Regions from separate parts of the Homo sapiens genome. Here region 2 is linked to region 1. Evidence: promoter capture Hi-C in 16 types of primary human blood cells and fetal thymus (Javierre and others, 2016). All regions are on one chromosome and are shown on one strand. The core of a region is centred on a gene start or on the middle of the fragment in contact, and the rest is flanking DNA. Distances in the headings are between cores, read along the strand shown. Region 1 holds the start of C15orf40 (chromosome 15 open reading frame 40). Region 2 holds the start of RSL24D1 (ribosomal L24 domain containing 1).

The links. The method cuts DNA at HindIII sites, captures the fragments that hold promoters and counts their contacts. A CHiCAGO score of 5 or more calls a contact.
Region 2: a contact is called between a fragment that was not itself captured here and the fragment with the promoter of C15orf40 in region 1, in 1 of 17 cell types (non-activated CD4 T cells). The highest score is 6.1, in non-activated CD4 T cells.

Annotation. Positions count from the first base shown.
Region 1 is chr15:83,008,773-83,013,636 of GRCh38, reverse strand. C15orf40 (chromosome 15 open reading frame 40) reads left to right here and starts at 1,998. Exons shown (of 4, transcript NM_144597.3): 1 at 1,998-2,140; 2 at 3,274-3,400. The coding sequence starts at 2,030. It overlaps LOC124903542 (a long non-coding RNA gene), which reads right to left and starts at 1,896. Exons shown (of 2, transcript XR_007064742.1): 1 at 578-1,896. RefSeq lists an enhancer at 1,761-1,820. The HindIII fragment of the contact is 2,628 bases long and covers 506-3,133 here.
Region 2 is chr15:55,194,452-55,196,951 of GRCh38, reverse strand. RSL24D1 (ribosomal L24 domain containing 1) reads left to right here and starts at 11. Exons shown (of 6, transcript NM_016304.3): 1 at 11-142. The coding sequence starts at 62. RefSeq lists enhancers at 47-206, 1-891. The HindIII fragment of the contact is 2,449 bases long and covers 26-2,474 here.

The DNA of each region.
Region 1 (4,864 bases), core at 749-3,248:
AGGCCAGGCGCTAGCTCACGCCTGTAATCCTAGCACTTTGGGAGGCCGAAGTGGGTGGATTGCCTGAGCTCAGGAGTTCGAGACCAGCCTGGGCGAAATGGCGAAACGCCCGTCTCTACTAAAAATACAAAAAATGGGTGTGGTGGCGCGCGCCTGTAGTCCCAGCTACTCTGGAGGCTGAGGCAGGGAGAATTGCTTGAACCTAGGAGGCGGAGGTTGCAGTGAGCCGAGATCCCGCCACTGCACTCCAGCCTGGGCGACAGGCTCTTCCCATCCCCCTGTCTCAAAAATAAACAAAAATAAAATAAGGTAACTATAGATTGGGATCATAGATGATTTCACGGTCTCCCTTAACTGTCTACCGCTGGGTGAGTTGCAATAGTCAGCCCTTTGCCATTCTCAAGAGTCCCAATATACCTTCAACACCTCCCCCGCCTTAGTTAATGAAAGAAATTCCACCTCCCATCACCAAACCTACAAACACAGCTACATGTCCACCTAAGCTTTCCCTTAGGAAGGAAGGAGTGTCTAAGGCCTCCTGTAGAGAACTCAATCTCTACTTGAGCTCAGATCCTACCTCTTCAGGAACCGTCCTCTGCTGTAACCTCTCTTCTCCTGGCTCTTTCCTACCAATCTTCAAATATGATAAAAATAAGTCTCTGAATGTCATGTGCCCCTCCAGATACCAATTGCTCCTTCACAGTGAAGTCACTGGATTATTCTCTACAATTATCTCCATTTCCTTCTCTCCACTAAAACTGCTGTAGCCCGGGTCACCACCACCACCCTGATTTCTAAATCTTGTGGCCACTTCTCAGTCGTTACATGTGACATGTTCTCTCCAGAGTGTTCATCACTGTTGATGTTCCCTCTTGAAGCGCCCTTCTTTAGCTGCCGTTACACCGTACTCCTACCTGGTCAGTGTCCTTTGGTGACTTCTCTACCTGCCCTTGCTGTTCTAACCTGGGCCCTCGTGCTCTTTACACACTCTCTCATCCATTTCCATAGCTTCAATTGCCATCTGCTTTCAGAAGATTCCAGAATCTCTATCACCAGCCTTGATTTCGCAAACTCCAGTCACATATATTCAGTTACCCCTTTAACATTTGTATTTGGATGTCCTGTGGGCATCTCAAACTCATTATGTCCAAAGCTGAACTCCTCACCTCGGCCTCCCAAACCTGTTCCTTGGGCCCCAAACCTGGGCATTTCCTTGACTTTTCCCCCTTATTCGCACATGCAGTCATTCCCAAGTTCTGATCATTTCAGTTCCTGAAGATCCTTGAAATGATCAGCGCTCCACCCTCCCTGCGGTTACTCTAGTTCAGGCCACCCTCTCCCATTTAGGGGGCGGATCTCCCTGTCTCTGGCTTTTCCTCTGTCGGCCACAGTGCAGCCGGTGTCTTTCTAAAACCCAGCAAATTGGGCTGCTAATAATCCCTTGCTTGAAAGCCTTCAGTGACTCCATGATCTTGCCTCTGCTGATTTGTTTCATGTCTCTCCATATCACATGTCGCAGTGTATTTCCTCTTCTTTTACATTGTGGGATCCGCTGCGCCTGGCACAAGGTAGGTGCGCCATCGATACGTGGAAGATTCACAAGGGCCAAGCCGCCACGAGGCTCTATATCGACTTGATGGCCACAGGCAGCGCGTGGGACTCTGCATCTGCTGCTTGGCTGTGGGAGCGAGAAGACACCTGGCCCTGTGCACTCCTTGCCGCGCTCTCCAATTCTGAGAAGTGACAATACCTTTCTTTCCCCGATTAGGAAAGAGGTGACACACCTTCCTATCAGCTGAGCAGGGTGGGCCAAGACACGGTGAGGCCTCAGCTCCGCAGCTCCACTTCCTGGGGCTCGGCCCGTTCCAGAACAAAAGAGACTCGCGCATGTTCTGCGGCCACGAGACTCGCTCCCGCCGGCCTTAAGGTGTCGCCCTCTGGCCAGAGCGGATGCGCCGGGCGGTGGGGCCGCTCCTGCCGGCTACCTGCGCAAGCGCAGAGGGCTCTTCCGGCGCCTTCCCAGGCGGGGATGCTGCGGCTCCGCAGCGGGCTGAGGCACCTTCGGGCAACACCCAATACTCGGGGCTCCGCTCGGCTTCTTTGCGCCGAGATGCCTAAGAAGGCTGGTGCGACGACCAAGGCCAGTAGCAGGTCCCGTGGCGGCAGAGGGGTGGGCCTCAGGGGTACTTGTTGAAGAGCGCGGGAGAAGCGGGGCCCGGGAGTGAGTGGAGGCACTGCCAGCGGCTTGCCGTCTCTCAGTTCCGGGGCTCAGGACAGCCGCCGCCACCCCCAGAGCTGCGGCCTGCTGCCGTCGCCCCGCCTCAGTAGGCTGCGCTGCCGTCCACCTGGTGATTTCTGAGCGCTGGGCCCGGCGGCAGCCGAGCTCTCCTTGGGCTGCGTGTGCTGACCTTTGGCCTCCTACCCGCACTCCCAGTCCAGCAATTCATGTTCCCGCAGCGGCATGACCTGCGTTTCCCCAGGAGGCTGTATTCTGCTTTCTCCTCCCTTGCTTTGGCTGATCGCACCCCTTCTGTCAAGAATACAGCACTCCCATTTCCACCATCTTTGTTTGGCCAACCCCAGTCCGTTTCTCAGACTCAGCTCAAGCACTGCCTCCTGCTGGCAGCATTCTCCAGTGCCCCAATGCTGATTTGCCTGTGGGGTAATGTTCTGTGCCTATCTCATCGGTGCACTTAGCACAGTGTATTATAATTTTGTATGTTCTTTCTCCCTCGCAGCAGTCCGAGCTCCTTGAGAGCAAGGACCATGTACCTTTTCATCTTTACATATCCATTGCCTACATATTTGTTGAACGAAAGTTCCTAGCACAGCCCCTGTCCCATAACAGGCCTTTAAATATCAAGCACTATTTTTTTTTCCTCCCTTTCCCGCAACATGCAGACATACACACTTTCACCAACATTTATTAGCTCCGACTGCATGAGATACAATGATGAATAATAAATGATCCCTGCCCCCAAGGAATTGGAAATACAAAGCAGAGGGAGGAGCAAGCATTAAGGTTTAGAAGCCAGAGTTAGGTTTTCTTGCAAGGGGGGAAAAAACACTGTTGGGTTGATGGGAACCCTTCGTGGGAAAATTGAGTAGAGCCTTGAAGGTTGTGGGAAAAGCTTTCTAGGTGGCCAGAAGTCCCTGGACACCACTGATGAGCCTAGTTTGTCTGTTAAGGGTGAAAGGGGGTAGTGGAAGAATCAAATTAAATGTGTGGGAAAATATTTTGTAACCTGTAAAGTTGTGTGGTTGTCATTTTAGGGTAAAAGCCAGAGCAAGGAACCAGAGAGACCACTTCCTCCCTTAGGTCCTGTGGCAGTTGATCCTAAAGGATGCGTCACCATAGCCATCCATGCAAAACCTGGCTCCAAACAAAATGCTGTAACAGGTATACCTGGACACTGGGGTGGGATTCAAGTGTGAATCAGGTGTCTCCTACAGCCCTCCTTTGCTTTGGTTAGCTGAAAGCTTATTCTATGACAGTTGATTTTTCACATCTGCAGTTAGAGGCTTCTCCATTTTAAAATTCTAGATTCTAATGTAAAGGTGTCTTAAAGTGAATATATCTTTAAATCATGCCAAGTTACACGAAAACCATTGTATATTTTCCTCTTTAAAAATACAGTATTTTAGAAAGGACAGTTATGGAAACTTGTGTGTAGTCTGGATTATTCTTAGTTTGTCCTGTTCCAAAACTGGAGACATTGGCCAGAGAAAGAAGAGACATTTTAGTGTAGTTTAATGATCACTGGCCTAAGGAGAGGGAGAAAACTTGAGATCTGAGACCCGTGATCAGTTCCTGTGCGAATTTGTTTTAAATCAAAACAGTATAAAACATTCATGGGTCCAGTTTTTTCATCTGTCAGATGAGATCGTTGGACTAAGTTAGAGGCTTTCAGGCTATTCTCTGGAGTGCTGGAGGTGCCTCAGGAATCAGCTTTGGGCAAGGAGGAGGCCAGGCAGACAGGGCTCCTGACTAGCTCTGTTTACATTTGTTTTACATATTGGGATTCTGGAGAAAATTGGGGGAAGGGATTCTAAAGGAAAAAAAGTTCAAAAACCATTGCTCTAAATTCTTTTGAAGGTCTTTTTCACCTCTAAAGCTCTGTATTTCAAACCATTTTTAGATTTTGAAAGGAAAACCACAACATTGACGTGCTAGACCTGGTTTATGCTGATGACCAAGTTAACTTAGCCATACCCTCCTTGGCCAGCATTTTCTAAGTAGTGGGTGTGGACACTGTCTACGTTGGAGTATTATGTTTCATTAGATCTAAAATGGGAGGCTGGATGCCATGGCTCATTTGTAAAATGGAGATAATAATGGTACTAATATCTTCATAAAGTTATTATAAGGATTAAAGAAGTTAGTATTTGTAAAGCCTTTAACACATTTGTGTGTGCTTAAAATTGGTGTATAGTAAGTGCTCTGTAAATATTTGTTAAGTAAACATTATTAAATTTTAAAAACACTCAAGATATGTGTCACATAAGAGGTGAACCTAGTCCGGGGCTCTCATTTTCCTGTTGAGGAAACCCTGCACAACCTTGTACAATCTAGTAAGCTGCCCTGTCCATACACTTCTTCAGTGACATTGATGAGGCTGAAGGCCATCTATGACTCCCTGCCTGGGGCTCTTCACATACCAAGGGCAATTTCCAGTTGCCTAAATCCAGGATATTCCCCAGGGCTCTGTAAGCCCATCTTGGTCGGCAAGATTGGGTCAATAACTTTTCTTCTCTGGATTTATTTCCTGTAATGGTAGGGCCATTTTTATCATGTTCATGTTCCTTAAATGTGATTAGTTTAATCATTCATTTCTTCATTCAACAGTTTTTAATTGAAAATCTG
Region 2 (2,500 bases), core at 1-2,500, about 28 Mb after region 1:
GGGTTGCATCACTTCCTCTCAAGCTTGGCGTTTGTTTGGTGGGGTTACACGCGGGTTCAACATGCGTATCGAAAAGTGTTATTTCTGTTCGGGGCCCATCTATCCTGGACACGGCATGATGTTCGTCCGCAACGATTGCAAGGTAAGGCGGTCGACACCAGTTCTTGCTTCAGCCTAGCTCCCGCGGTTCCTGGGCGCGGCGGCTCGGTGCTGGGTGCTTCTGCGTCTGCCGTGTTTGGCCCGGGTTCCTCCCGTTGTTCCCCTGGGAGGGTGGCTTAACTGGGCCTCCGTTCTCAACGTTCCGCTTCGGGGGTTTCTCCTTGCCCGTCTTCCGAGCGGCGCTGGCCACCACGCCACCCTTGGGTGGCGTTGGCAGCGAGGAACTTCAGGAGCGATCCCAGCTAGCGCCTACCAGGAATCTTGGATGTCTGTGAGGGCTGTTTGGCCACTCATGTACTTGGGCCAAATTCTTGAATCCAGTAAACTTTGTTGAGTGTATACCCTGTCAGGCATTACACTAAGGTCCATACTAAAGTGTAGAGGTTGATGGAAGTGTTCCGTATTGCTTAATGGTAGAGTTATGTATTAAGTTACTGCAGGTGAGTTGGGGAGGGTCCTGTACGGAAAGACTCAGCATAGAGGTGATATTTATCTTGGATCCTGAATTTTGCGGAAGAAAGCGGAGGGGGCCTTCTAAGTGGAAGGAAAGTGAACATTTTGAGAAAAGGCAGAGAACGGAGCAAATACATTTGTTTGAGGAAGTGACTGGATTGTAAATGATGATAGAGCCTTGGGCGTAGGGCTACAAGTATAATAAGTCTGTAAACGTAAATAATAAATATGAGTCCTAGTTGTGAAAGACGTTTTGAATGGTACATGAATTTGTCCTGTCATTACAGAATGAATCCCGTTCCTCTCTTTCTCAGAGAAACACATTGTTTCTCAGAATTTGATCTCTTACGTTTGCTTCTGAATTACTGGGCGTTTACAGATTCCTGGTTTTCACCAGATCTATTGAGTTGGAATCTTTGGGGGAGGGGAAGAGGGTCTAAGAATCTGTATATTAAGGTGAATTTGACGTGCTAAATAATTACAAGTCTGACTTCTTCACCTTATATCTCTGTAACAGATCAAAGATATTGACCTCATTAATTAGATCCAAGGGATTCAGCTGAAAGTGACGGACCAAAGCCATGTTTGATAACGTAAAAGAACCTAGAAGATTTTGAATACTTGCTCTCAGGAACATGATAAGAAGTTTATAAAAATGAACCAAAAGATTGCCAGGTTGGGGTCTAATTCAGAGTAGGCAGTATGGTTTTATACATGATGTCGTTACGATTTTGTGATTTTCGTCCAGGATGCTTGTCGGCTGGATATTGGAATTAGAACAACAGATCGTGAGAACTGTCAAGACCTGGGTATTGATTTGGTAGACACAGTGGAAGTTAAGTTGATGAAGAATAAGGACAGTGTTGAGTTGGTTGGGAGTCACCAGTGGATCCAGAAGAGAGTTGTTGGAGGAAATAAAAGATAGAGGGCCTGAAGCACTAACAAAGAACAAGTATCTCATCTTTTTTTATGCTTGATTTCCAAACCTAAATCTCCTGAGCTCCAAATCTGAATTTTCCATTGGATGTACCTAACAGTAGGTACAGTGGGCCTACTGAAAGAGAATTCCTTAGTACCTCAGATCTTTTTGCTCTGTGAATTAATACCACTCTTAAGTGCCCGGATAGTTTTGCTAGAAACATGAGAGTCGTCTGAATCTTTTCACCTTTTGTATCTAGTTATCAAGTCTTACCTATCCTGCCTCTGCAAAGATAGTGGTGTCTTTGCCTTCTTTCTACTTTCCTGTCCTAGTTCAGATTAGGCTCTTACCACTTTTATAGCCTCTTATCTAGCCTTTTTTTTTTTTTTTTTTTTTGAGACAGGGTCTCACTGTCTATTGCCCAGGCTGGAGTGCAGATGTGTGATCATGGCTCTCTGCAGCCTCAGTCTCCTGTACTTAAGCAGTCCTCCCTCCTCAGCATGCTGAGTAGCTGGGACTACAGGTGTGCACCACCATGCCCAATATCAAAAAAATTTTTTGTAGAGACGGGGAGATTAACATTGTGTGTGTGTGTGTGTGTGTGTGTGTGTGTGTGTAGAGACAGAGGCTTGCTATGTTTCCCAGGCTTTAACTAGTCTTTCTGCCTTTATTCTCTTAGTTTCTGAGACTGTTATTAATAGAAACTTCACCTTTTACTCTTCTTAGGCATAAATGGGTTAAGGGTAGAATTAATGCTAATTCTCTATATTTGCACATACTTTGCAAACAGGGAAAATACATTCTTAATGAGGGCTTAATAAATGTTGAATTAGTGGAATAAGAAAGGTTTGAAGAACTTTGAGTCCAAGGTATGGGGGATCATTTGTTAGCATGTTAGCATTTAGGGGACTAAATTAAAAGAGAAACTTGAAACCATAAAGCTTTGCCTGACACATAAGCCATCCACCT